2 separate regions of the Homo sapiens genome follow, and region 1 is linked to region 2. The links are contacts of gene promoters, found by promoter capture Hi-C in human tissues and cell types (Jung and others, 2019). All regions are on one chromosome and are shown on one strand. The core of a region is centred on a gene start or on the middle of the fragment in contact, and the rest is flanking DNA. Distances in the headings are between cores, read along the strand shown.

Region 1 (6,081 bases), core at 3,512-6,011, 1.2 Mb after region 2:
TGCCTGACTCCCCCCCGCCCACTGCCTTTCCTGTCTCTCTGCACACCCTAACTCTCAGCACTGTCCCCACCCCATCACTCCAGAAGCAGGGACCAATGCTTGTTCTTGCTTTTGGCTGGCTTCCTGCTGACTTCTGAGGAATTAACAGTTAATTAAGGGTTTAACAGTTAATGAAATTGTTGATGGTTAATGAAGGTGTTAACAGTTAATGGAAGTGTTGGCACTCAATGAAGGTTGTAGCGAAAGATGATACCCATTCTGGGATATTTTTATCTTAAGCAGAAGAAAAAGTTAGAAACTCTTAAATGTCTAGGAAATAAAGTAATGATGGTTGAATGATAATTATAAACTTCTGCGAGGAGATATATTGGAATCTTAGTAGTGGCTATATTTTTCTTATTTGTGCTTTTTGGCATTTTTCCAAATGCAAGACAAGGCGTCCTCATTATTCTCTAAGCTGAATTTCCTCACCTGTAAAATGGGAATAATCATCGTCATTACCTGGTGGGGTGTTGTGGGTGTTAAGGGAGATCTTGCACAAAAAGTAATTAGCCATGGGTCTGTGTGTCGCAATCACTGTCAGTATTAGCTCTTCATATCTGACTCAACCTCTTCCTCATTTACTGAAGAGAAATTTAAAGTGCAGAGATGGCCAGTGCCTTGCTGGAGGTACCATGGGGTGGGGGTCAGTAGTGGGACAGAAGCCAGGCCGCTGGTCTCTCCAACTAGGGACCATCCCTCTGTGTGCAGATGACCTGGGCACTGAGGCAGGGCTGAATTGTAGGCGTGGTGGGGTCAGGTTGAGGGGAGGTGTGGGACTGGGGCTCCTGAACACCAGGGCCAAAGGCTGGAACACTAGAAACTGGGAGTGGAGGTGGGGAATCCCAGAGAGAATGACATCAGAGTCACAGCCTCAGCCTGCACTCCTTAGCATGCTGCCAGTTAGAGCCGGTGACCTTCCTGAGTGTCTCTAAGTCTCATCTAACTCATAGGATGATGGAGAATCTTAGAATCTTAATGGAAGCAGCAGCATTTCTGAATGTCAGAGCCAGTATGGACCTTGTAGATCATGTTACCAGCTTCCTGCTCTGTGGATGCCTGGCTAGGCTGTGCGGCCGCTTCTGCCCTAGTGCTCCCCACCTCAAATGGAAACGATGGCTTTCTGCTTCTGTGTCCCCAGTGGATGGGAGCATCCCTGGCCCTAAACATGGGGTCTGGGGCATGCTGGGTAAGTGGGACCTCCCGCAGCTGGGTGCTCACCTACATCATGGATGAACTGCTCGATCTTGGCTTGCATGCCCCAGTAGCGGAACTCAACCTTGCACAGCTTATAGGCACACATAAGGGGCCCCGTCTGTGCCGCCGTCCGTGCCCAGTCATCAGACAGTGGCCCTCGGCCCGTCTTGACCGAGTGATAAAGCCGGGGGTCCTCTTCTGCTTTGTACTCGCCTGGGGCCACTGCATCCCGCACGATGTCGATGGTGTCTGAGGGAGTTCGGCAAGCATTGAGCAGCGCCAGCCCCTTTGAGCCCCCGCTCCTGGCACCCTCTTGGGACTGGATGACAGTTCCCGTCCTTTTGCAGACAGGACATGAGGCCTGGAGAGGGCTGGGACTTCTCAGAGGCTGCCCACTGAGGCAGCCAGGAGCCTGAGAGGGGCGCCAGGGTCCCCCCATAGCTCCAGGCCTCACCCAGGATGCGCTGTCTCCTCTCGGCCCCGCTCAGGTTGAAGACGTTTGGCTGCTGCCCCCCATCAGGCAGGTAATAGGTCTCAATTTCAATGGAGAATTTCTCCACGAAAGGGCAGGTGTACCTGGGCAGAAGGCACGGGTGAGGCTCACTGCTGTACCCACCAGGGCCGCTCCCCTCCTGGCCTCGGACCATGCCCAGCTCACCCACTCACCGGGTTCGGGTGTAGGGGTAGGCATTCCAGGATTCCTCTTCTACCTGCAGGGCAGCCTTGGGCAGCAGTGCCCGGAACCAGCCTGGGATGTGGGAGCCCACGTGGTACACCTTGTGTGTGTATTGCCCGCTGCCCCCGGGCCCATCCGTGTAGGGCCGGTTGGCCAGGATCTCCACGCCGCTGCCCTCACCACTAGACTCCTCCCGGCTCTTTTTCTGTGGCCCAAGGGAGAGCAGGACAGGGAGCTCAGCCCCAGCTTAGCATCTGGGATCCCCAGCTCAGCCTGGTGTTCTACACAGCTCTGGGGCCCTGGTCCCAGCCTTTTCAACTCCCTGAAACCAGACCCCGCCCCACCAAAGCTCCCTGGGATCAGAATCACAGATGCAGCCCAGCCCCGCATGGGGTCTGCAACCCAGCACTCAGTTGAGTCATTCAAGTATTCATTGAGTGTCTGCTCCACTCCAGGCAGTGTTTGGGATTATATCAATTGAGATATATTGATGAATAGAACAAAGATCCCTGCCCTCGTGGAACTTACATTCTAGTGGAAGGAGACAGACAAAAGGAAAAAGCAAATTATGTGGTGTGTTAGAAGGCGCTAGGTGCTATAGGAAAAGAAAGCCTAGAGTAGGGTATAGGTGATGAGGGTTGGGGGCTGCAGTTTTGATCTGATAGTCAGGGAAGGCCTTGCTAATAACACAATGTGACCATGGCTTGAACATGACTTTAAGGAGGTGAGGTAGGAGGAGGTGCTCAAGGCCGGGGGAAGCCAGTGCAGCCCCAAGGTGGGAGCATACTGGATGTGCTGGCAGGTGGCAAGGAGGCCGGGGTGGCTGGCAAGGAAGAAGGGACTAGGAGAGGAAAAGGGGCCTCCAGCTCTCAGAGGCCCTGACCCTGGCCCCCTCCCTCTCTGGGAGGCCCTGGCCGCCTCCCAATCCCAGCTCCGCCACACCCCTCAGAGCTTGAGAGCCCCCAGATCCTGCCTTCTATTGCTCCGGGGCTCAGATGGCCCTTTCAAGCCCGAGGCGGGGTCCGGGCCCTCTTGCTTTATGAGATTCTGGTCCTGCTGTGCTGGGGACAGATCTGGAGCAGACTCCCCCAGGCCCCGCACCAACCCGGCCACTGCTGAGGGCCTGCCCTGGCCCACTCTTCTCACTGCCCTACACCAGAGCCTCCTCGCCCTCCCATCCTTGCTGCCCTGTCCCTGCTCCAGGTTTGACACCTGGTCCTCACCACATCTCCCTGACCTCCAGGGATGGCCAGGACCCTCCACTTCTCCAGACCCCCTCCCGCCTTCCTCTGCCGCGGAGGCCCCCCTCCTCATTCTTGCCGCCTCCTGGGCGCTTTTTCCTTCCCCGATGGGATTACAGATCCTGAGGAGGATTACAGGAGATCAGAGGAGGGCTGGGCACTTAGCGGATGGGAAGCACCACTCGGCCCTCCTGCCCCTCTTCCCACAGTCCTTCCCCATTCCCACATCTGAAGGGGGGCCTCTCTTGCCTCCTCCGGGCTCCCAGCCGGTCCCAGCCCCGGGGCAGGGCTGGCGGGGTCGGCAGGGCTCCACCCCTTGCCCGGGTGCCCTCTCCCCGCCGCCCTCACCTGGATCATGTAGAGCTGGGCCACCTGGTACTCGTCCAGGCTCATGGGCAGCAGAATGTGGTATTCCTTGATGAGCATCCTGAAGGCGCTCGGCGGGCCGCGCGCGGCCTCCGCTCCTCCTGGCGCAGGGCACGGCGCGACAGTCAGTGCGGGGAGGCTGCGCGCGGCCCCGAGCCCTGCGCGCCGGCCGAGGGACTCAGGCCACGGGACCCCATGTCCGGGCCCGCCACGAGGGAGGCAGAGGCGAGCCTAGCACCGCCGCCCGCGCCGCCGGGGCCGGGAGCCGCAGCGAGGCTGAGCGCTGACCTCTTTTCCGCGCAGCCCCCGCCCCCCGCCCGCCCGTCGCCATGGCAACCGCGCGCTGACGCGGGCCCCCCGGAGCGCCAGGCTCCGGCCGGCGGGCGGGAGGGCCACCTCACCTCTCCCGCTGCGACCGCGTCCTAACCCCGGGAAACGGCATCCCTCTGGGCGCGCCCCCGAAGCCCCGGGGCCCCTCCTTCCGGGCCCGCCTTCCGCGACCGGCCCCTCGGGGACCCGCCCCTTGCATCCCCTTCCCGGAGTCGGCGGGGTCCCAAGTCCCCCACTCTCGGACGTCCACCTAGAGCTTTGTTCCCCGAGTGTCTCTGCGCGGAGTGGCCCAGTGCGCCCAGCATCTCTGCCAGGGTTCCCCACGCCCTGCACCCGAACCTACCTTCCGGGACCGGTAATCTCCTCCGCCCTCCAGATCTGCCTTCTTGGGCAGCCGGGTCCTCGACCTCCCCCTCCCAGCATCCTTCCTGGACCCCTGGCCCTCGCCGGCTCTCCACGCGCCTAGGCAGCCACTCCGTCCTCTTCCCAGGGGGTGAGCCCTCCTCAGGCTGAGGCCAGAGTGGCTCCACTTGGTATCCCACGGGCCATGGCCCTGGAGACCCGCTCCGTCCACCTGCGCCCCAGACTGGCACCGAGGTTCCGCTGCAGGCACCCCTCCATCCCCCACTCGCACCCCGCGAGCAAGCGAGAGGCCCCGTTGTCCCCACTTCCCTCTGCTCGCCGGCGTCCCGGTCCCCTGCCGCGCTCTTGGCCCGCCTGCCGACGCCCCGGCTCACCTCTAGCTTGAGGCGGGCGCCCCTCACCCAGCCCGGGCAGGGCCGGCCGGCCCGTGGGTCGGAGCCCGGAGCGCCCCCAGCCCCGGCCTCGGGTTCCAGCGGTGGCCGGACCCTCCCGAGGCGCAGTGCCGGCCCATGGCCCCGACCTTCCTCTCGATCCGCCCGCCGGCGCCCCTGCAGTCCCTCCCCGACGCCCGCCGCGTCACTGCGGCCGCCCCGCCCCCTTCCTGGGCCCGGCTGGCCCTCCCCACCCCGGCGGGGTCCGGGCAGCCCCGCCTGCAGCGGAGGAGGCAGGGAGGGAGGCCCCTGCCTTCCTTCCCCCGGGCAGTGGGAAAAAGGCCATTGCCTAAATTCTGGCTCTTCCTAGTCCCTCTGTGCTGATTGGGGTCCCCAAAGACTCTTAGTTCCTATCTCCACCCTAGCCCAGCCCTCCTGTGTGCAGTCACAGGGTGGTTTGATATGGGGGGTCCCAGGCCCACTCTCCTCTTCTCACTCTCTGCAGTCCTTAGATTTGGGACCCAGGGTTGAGGAAATGCCTCCCCACCAGTCTAGCCAGAAGCTGGTGGCTCTGACATGCCTCCACCTAGGGCTGGGCTCGGCTCCAGGGCCCCAGGCCTCTATGGTCACCCAGCTACACGCCCAGGCAGAAACGGGCTGTCACTGTGAGTGGCTGGGCTAGCCCCTGCATGGTGCCACAAAGCCTCCCCCACCTCTGCCTTCCGGGTCCACAAGTCCGGTCACCCAGCCACCCGGAGTCTGGGCAAAGGCCTCACGAGGCACCCCAAGGCTGGGTTCATGGGATCCCACCCAGCCTGCTACAAGGTGCTGGGGCAGTGACGGCAGCACCCCGCCAGCCCCTCCCCTTGACACTGAGGCCAAGTGCTGGAAGCAGCAGTGCCCTTTCTCTCTGAGAAGTCAGAGACCTTCAGGGCTGATTCAGAGGCTGGGGTGTTGTCAGGGCATTAGGGCGTGTGAGGGAGTGGCTTACGTGAACTGGCATTTCCATGCTGCCAGGCATCACCGCCAATCCAGAGGAAGCGCCCTCCAGGCCCAGGCTGCCCACAGCGCCAAGGGCTGTGGAAGCAGCCAGGCCCTGTGCTGCCCCCTGGTGGCACCACAGGAAGGCCCAGGGCTCTCAGCGCCACGGCTGGGGCGGAGAGGGCCCAGGTCCCACCAAAGGCTGATGGCCTACAGAGGCAAGTCAAACCTCATTTAATCACACCCTCCCCATCCATAGTCTCCTCTTCCCCTGTCTCTGCCTGGCCCACCCAGGCTTAGCTGAAGAACCAGACCCAGAAAGGCTCAGAGCTGAGAGCACAACTCCAAATCATCTTTTATTAATATAAAAAGGGCATATTTAGCAAAAGACACACAGATAAAAGAGTCACTATGGCTCAGGACACAAGGCAGGGAGGTGCCAGGCCTGTGCCCCTGCTGGGGGAGAAGGAGGCTCGGGACAAAGTGGGAGAAGTGCTGGGAAGGGCTGAGCGGTAGG
Region 2 (5,936 bases), core at 1-2,500:
AGACAGACCCATGCGCTGCCTGCCCACCGTGCCCCTTTGTCCCCATGTCAGGCGGAGGCGGAAGGCCCACCGTGCCAGAGGCTGGGCACCAGCCTTAACCCTCACTCTGCTAGCACCTCCTCCCTTTCCCCAAGGTAGCACATCTGGCTCACTCCCCACTCCGTCTCTGGAGCCCACCAGGGAAGGCCCTCATCCCCTGCCGCTACTTCTCTGGGGAATGTGGGTTCCATCCAGGATTGGGGGCCTCTCTGCTCACCCACTCTGCACCCAGGATCCTAGTCCCCTGCCCTCTGGCACAGCTGCTTCCTGCAAGAAAGCAAGTCTTTGGTCTCCCTGAGAAGCCATGTCCCTCGTGCTGTCTCTTGCCTGTCCCACCTGTGCCCTGCCCTCCAGCTTGTATTTAAGTCCCTGGGCTGCCCCCTTGGGGTGCCCCCCGCTCCCAGGTTCCCCTCTGGTGTCATGTCAGGCATTTTGCAAGGAAAAGCCACTTGGGGAAAGATGGAAAAGGACAAAAAAAATTAATAAATTTCCATTGGCCCTCGGGTGAGCTGAGGGTTTTTGCAAGGAAGTTGTGGTGGCCAAGTGTGGTCTGTGGTCTAAGCCCAGCCTTGGGGTGGGGGGATGGAACTGGAACCCTGGGCTTGGTGGGGTGCACGGGGGTCCTGGCTTGGTTTCTGTGTCCTAAGGCTGCTGGCAAAAGCCCTTGACCCCGTTTCCTGAGGCCAGGAAAGCTGCTTGTGCTTCTGTGGTCTGTCCCCAAGGGCCCAGCACCGTTCTGTCAGGGAAAGAGGCAGGCGGCCATCAGCTCATACCTGGCGTGCCGCCGCCAACTCCCGCGGGGCACACGGCAGAGGTGTGGGGTCGCGCAGCCGCTGAGAGGGCCCCCACTGCACCTGGCCCAACCTCCTTCAGCGCCCCCCAAAACCCCACTGCTCCCATTCAGCCCCTGTCCTGGCGTCATTGTGTGTCCCAGCCAGGTGCTTCTGCCGTCTCCGACAGTGACAAGTGCCTCGCACTTCAGCCTTTGCCCTGAGCGCCCGCCCGAGGGGGCCGAGTGCGGCTGTGCCGGTGGCTGGAGTGCCGAGGGGTGCGGGGTGCCGGGGGCGGCCGCGTCTACGCTGTCCGGAGGGTGAACGGCCGCGGGCTTGTCGGGGCTGGGGGTGGCGCCCGAGCCGGGCGGGCAGACGAGGGGCCCGCGGAGACCCAGCCCCGCCCGAGGCCGCTCGCGCGGCGGCCCCGCCCCCGGCTCCGCCCCGCCGGCTTCGCGGGCTGGAGAGCGAGGGAGCCGCGGGCGAGGGATCGCAGGATGAGCGATCGGGGCCCGGGCAGCCGGCAGCGGACGCGCCCCCCGAGCCCACCGGCCCGCGCCCCGCGCCCCCCACGGCCCCGCGGTCCCGGTCCCGGCCGCATCACCCACGTCCCCCGAGCCCCACGGGCCATGCCCGGCCGGCCCTAAGCGCGGGCCGGGGGGCGTCCCCTTGCGCCCGGGCCCCGCGCTGGCGCCCCCCGGGCCGCCGCCCGGCGCGGGGGCCATGGCGTTCACCTTCGCCGCGTTCTGCTACATGCTCACCCTGGTGCTGTGCGCCTCCCTCATCTTCTTTGTCATCTGGCACGTAAGGCCGGGCTGGGGCTGGGGCTGGGGGCGGGGTGGGGGGCAGGGGCCACGCGGAGCTGGAGGGACCCAGGGCGGGTGGTCTCAGAGCCCAGGGGAAACTTGCTATCCCCCAGCCGTCGGCTTGTCGGCTTCGCCCCCATTAACACCCCCCGTGGTCGGCTTTCTTCCCGGGGCCCCCCTTCCTCCGCCGCCCCCGCCTGTCTGTGTGTATGTCAGTCGGTCTCTGACCCCCTCCTCTGCCCTCGTCCTCTGCTCCCATGCAGCCCGTGAGGTGGGGGGTGGAATTCTGGCATTTTTGTTGCTTTATCTTCTATGTCCCCCCCCACCACCATCCAGCCGCCTCCATTAGTCCGTCGGGCAGTTTGTCTGTCTGCTGCCCCCCCCCCCCCGCCTTTGTGGGTTTTTCCAGCCAGAGTGATGGAGCTGGTTGCTATGGCAACTGCATCTGTTTACAGGACCCACAGATCTCAGAGTCCATTAACCCTTTGCCTTCCCAGCCCCCTCCCTGACCAAGCAGCAGTTGGCTCTCATCAGCCCCCAGAGACCTAGCCCCCACCACCGGCTCACCTTGGGTTTCCCTACCCCTCCTGTTGGGGGCTTCCCAGCCCCCCAGGTTTCCTCTCCATTTTCCAGCTTCCCTCCTCTTCCTGTCCCCCTTCCCCTTTGTCTCTCACATACCCCTTGGTCTGTCCCTCGCCCTGGCCTAGCCTCACACCTGGTTCTTCAAAATGTCCATTCCTCATCCTGCATCCGACCCATCGCTTCCCCCAGGCTCCCTCCTCCTCCCCTCCCGCTCCTCTCCTCCAGGGCCTCCTCTGCCTGGCTCCCGTCCCCTCACTACAGAACTATCAATCAGCCTCCAGCTGGTTGTTGGGGGCCCCTGGCCCCACTTTACTGCCCTCCGTCCCCACCCCCACCCAAACCCCGTGCCTGTTTCTGTAACAGCCTGCCCAGCTCGGCCCTGGCTGGCTCAGCTCAGCATCCTCTGCTCACACCTCCCGCGCACACCTCCCTGATTGTCATTCCCTTTCAGGGGTCCTCTTATCCCTCCCTCAATCCCATTTCCCATAGCCCTTCCCTCCTTCCTCCCGGTGCCTCACCTGCTTCTTTCCCGGGCTCTCCACTTCCTCTCTCCTTTCTCTTCCTGGGACCTGCCGCCTGCTCCATGGTTCCCCCTGCGCTCCCTTTGCCATCCCCTGCCACCTTGCTCTTTGACATCGGGAATCCATAGACTGAACCCCTACTGTGTGAAGAGTGAGCCCCCAAAGGCACCTCAGCACACACCCCAGCTCCAGCCCTGTCACTCCTTGGCCTGGCTCTGCTCTCTCTCTGGGTCTTGGTTGCTTTGTCTTTCCCCCTCTCCCCCGCACCCCGAGTTACTCTATTTTTCTTTCTGTGGGGTAGGGGCAGGAGGGCTAGGGTTCTAAGGACTGGAGGGAGCTGGGGGCCACAGGCTAGGGAATGCAGAGCTGACCAGCTCCTGGGAGAAGGGCTCCTGGAATTCAAGAAGCCTCTTTTTGGGGCCTTCCCCACCCAGGGCCTTCCCACAGCCCCTGTGGGGTCCCTGTCCTCAGGGGATCCTCAGCAGTTTATCCACCACGCCTGCATTGATGCTTCCCAAAGATCAGGCTCTGGGTGGCTTTGAGGGGGTCAAGGATGAATAAAACCCAGACTTTGCCCTTGTGGAGTGCCCAGGCTGGGAGGAAAGGCCCAAGCTTTGAAGAAATGTCTTTGTTCATTCAACAGATATTGATTGAGCACCTGTGTGAGGTACTCTGTCCACTCAGCCATTTAGCTGGACAATCTTAGCAAGTCATTTGTCCCAAGTCTGGTTCCTCGCCGGCAAAGTGGACCTGTGCACATCAGAGTGCCTAGTGCGGCCTGCTGGGTGGTAGGGGATAGGAGGCGTGGTCCTCAGTCCACAGCTGCTAAGAACTAGACTCTTAACAGGGCGGGACCCCAGATCCCACTCCAGACCCTCAGCCCAGGCCCCAGTGGTTCCTAGGCAACCCTGGCGGTGAGTGACGCGTGTCAGCTGTCACCATGGGGGATTGTTTGTTCCGGGGGGCTGAGTCAGCGCCAGGCAGCCTGGGGGGTGGGAGGGGTGACGCCCGCCGCCTGCTGGTGGTGCCAGCTCTGGGGTACAGACGGCACCCTTCTGCTCCCTGTGGACCCTGTTGCTGTGCGTGCCAAGTGGCGCTGCCCAGAGTCAATGGGGAGCTGGGCGGGGAGGGGGGATGATCCAGATGGCCTCAGCTCCCTCCAGGAAGCCCATGTTCTTTCTCTCTGAGCCGTCTGGGGCCTGGGATGCCTGGGGGTGGTGGGCCTGCTGCCTCATCCTAGGGCTGGAGCCGACAGGAGGGGACCCCAGCAGGCTCCTCTGCCAGCCCATTTCCCCCAAGTCACCTGTCAGCTCCTTCCCATCCCATCATCCCCTCAAACACTTGCTCCCCTGGAGAGTTTCCACCCGTGAGGACACTGCCGTCTGCCAGACACCCCAACACCTGAAGCCACCTTAGATTTCTGCCTTCACTTCTCAGCCATTTGAACCCTCTGGAGTCTGGCTCCTAAAGAGCTGTAGAATCCCATGCACGCCTTCCGTCTCCACTACAACTCTCCTCACTCAGACCACCATCAGCCCTGCCCCTAACCCTCCAAACCGTCCCCTTGCTGGTCTGGCCTGAGTATGACACAGTGGTTAGGAATTTTAACTCTGGAGTCACACTGGGTTAGAATCCACTAACCAGCCGTGTGGCCCTGGACAAGTCACTTAACCTGCCTCAGCTTCCTCATCTGCAAAACAGACATGAAAATAAAACTAGTACCTAAGTCATAAGGTTGTTAAGAATTAAATGAGTGAATCCACATACCGGCCAGGAGAAGCACCACTTAGATCTCAGCTGTGACTGTCAGTGAGCTCGGATTTCCTGCCCCACCAATCCTGAGACATGGACCAATCCTAAGACATGGACCTGACCACCCCACTCTGCTGCTGTGTACTCTTCAATGCCTCCCCCCAAAATTTTTGTGTTAAAGTAAGTCCAAACTCCTGCTCTGGCCTCACAGGGCGCCCATGTCTGGCTCTGCTGAATTCTCCAGCTCCTCTTCCACCACTCTCTCTTTTCTTCCTGCTCGCTGCGCTGTCACGCCAGCCCCATGAAACCCGCAGCCTCCTGAATGTCTCCTGACCTTTCACCCCTCTGCCATTGCACCTTCTACTGCTTGGACTGCATTTCCCCCATTTGCTCACCAACACCTACTCCGAGTCCAGCCTGAACTCCCTCACCCCCCACACAGGGTTAAGCGCCCACTCCAGGTCCTCCCTGTACCCCAAACCCTGATCACCTGGAAGGCAGAGTGATCATCCCTCTGGGCCTGGGTTCCTCCTGGGCAGGGGCTGCATCCCAGGCCTCTGGAGCCCCAGTGCTCAGCACAGGGCCTGAGACTTGGCAGGGCAGACACGAAGCCATGTCTTGGGATGTTTTGGAAGGGGGTGTAGTGGACATGGGCCTGAACTGGGCATCCAGACGCTAGGGTTCCCTTCTGGACTGTTGTAATGACCTTGGACCAGGCCCTGCTCCTCCCTGGACCTCGGTTTCTCCACCTTTGCAACAAGCTCCACCTGGCTGGTCCTCTTCAGTAAACTATCCCACAGAAGGACTTGGGGGAAGGCCATAAGCTGCTGCCCCAACCCTGACGGGCACACGCCCCTCCCCCAGATCATAGCCTTTGATGAGCTGCGGACCGACTTCAAGAACCCCATCGACCAGGGGAACCCTGCGCGGGCAGTAAGTGATACATGTGCTGTGCCGAGGTGTGTCCGTCCGTCTGTCTTTCCATCTGTCGTGGGCTGGGGGTGGGAGACGGGAAGACGGGGGTGGGGTGGGGGGCCTACGGCCATGCCCCCTTCCTCTCTGTCTCCGCCCCCAGCAAACACCTGGCGCGGGCTCAGGGCTGAGTTCCTCTTGGCGGGGCGGTGGTTGCCAGGCTCTGGGCCGTTGCCATGGAGACGCGGGTGAAGGCCCTTCCATGGTGACGGTCGCCATGGGGACGGCGCGGCTGCTTCCCGGCCGTGCCGACAGTGCCGCAGAGATCGCTCTGGCGCCCCCTGGCGGCCACATGTGGAGCGGTGGGAGCTGCTCCAGTACCTGCTTCTCCGCCACCCCATCGCGGCCTTTTCCTTCCCCCAACAGCGCGAGCGTTTAAAAAACATCGAACGCATCTGCTGCCTCCTGAGGAAGGTCAGTGTCAGGGCTGGGGGCAGGAGGCTCCTAGCCCAGCGCTGCCCCCACTGTCTGTGGCCCAGAACCAGGCCTTCCCC

The links. Contacts are between HindIII fragments. The study calls those that stand out against the background at their distance.
Region 1: a contact is called between the fragment with the promoter of PITPNM1 here and the fragment with the promoter of CNIH2 in region 2, in 1 of the 25 tissues and cell types used here (heart left ventricle).

Annotation. Positions count from the first base shown.
Region 1 is chr11:67,500,602-67,506,682 of GRCh38, forward strand. It overlaps PITPNM1 (phosphatidylinositol transfer protein membrane associated 1), which reads right to left and starts at 4,762. Exons shown (of 24, transcript NM_004910.3): 1 at 4,587-4,762; 2 at 3,502-3,620; 3 at 1,903-2,117; 4 at 1,691-1,812; 5 at 1,261-1,485. The coding sequence starts at 3,579. CDK2AP2 (cyclin dependent kinase 2 associated protein 2) reads right to left here. Exons shown (of 4, transcript NM_005851.5): 4 at 5,896-6,081. RefSeq lists enhancers at 2,471-3,220, 3,221-3,970 and silencers at 3,749-3,848, 3,929-4,048, 4,059-4,218, 4,429-5,058. The HindIII fragment of the contact is 15,242 bases long and covers 1-6,081 here.
Region 2 is chr11:66,276,925-66,282,860 of GRCh38, forward strand. It overlaps CNIH2 (cornichon family AMPA receptor auxiliary protein 2), which reads left to right and starts at 1,251. Exons shown (of 6, transcript NM_182553.3): 1 at 1,251-1,613; 2 at 5,335-5,403; 3 at 5,809-5,856. The coding sequence starts at 1,533. It overlaps RAB1B (RAB1B, member RAS oncogene family), which reads left to right. Exons shown (of 6, transcript NM_030981.3): 6 at 1-568. It overlaps LOC107984340 (a long non-coding RNA gene), which reads right to left and starts at 1,601. Exons shown (of 2, transcript XR_001748274.1): 1 at 1,571-1,601. RefSeq lists a silencer at 1,027-1,356 and an enhancer at 5,522-5,936. The HindIII fragment of the contact is 9,186 bases long and covers 1-5,320 here.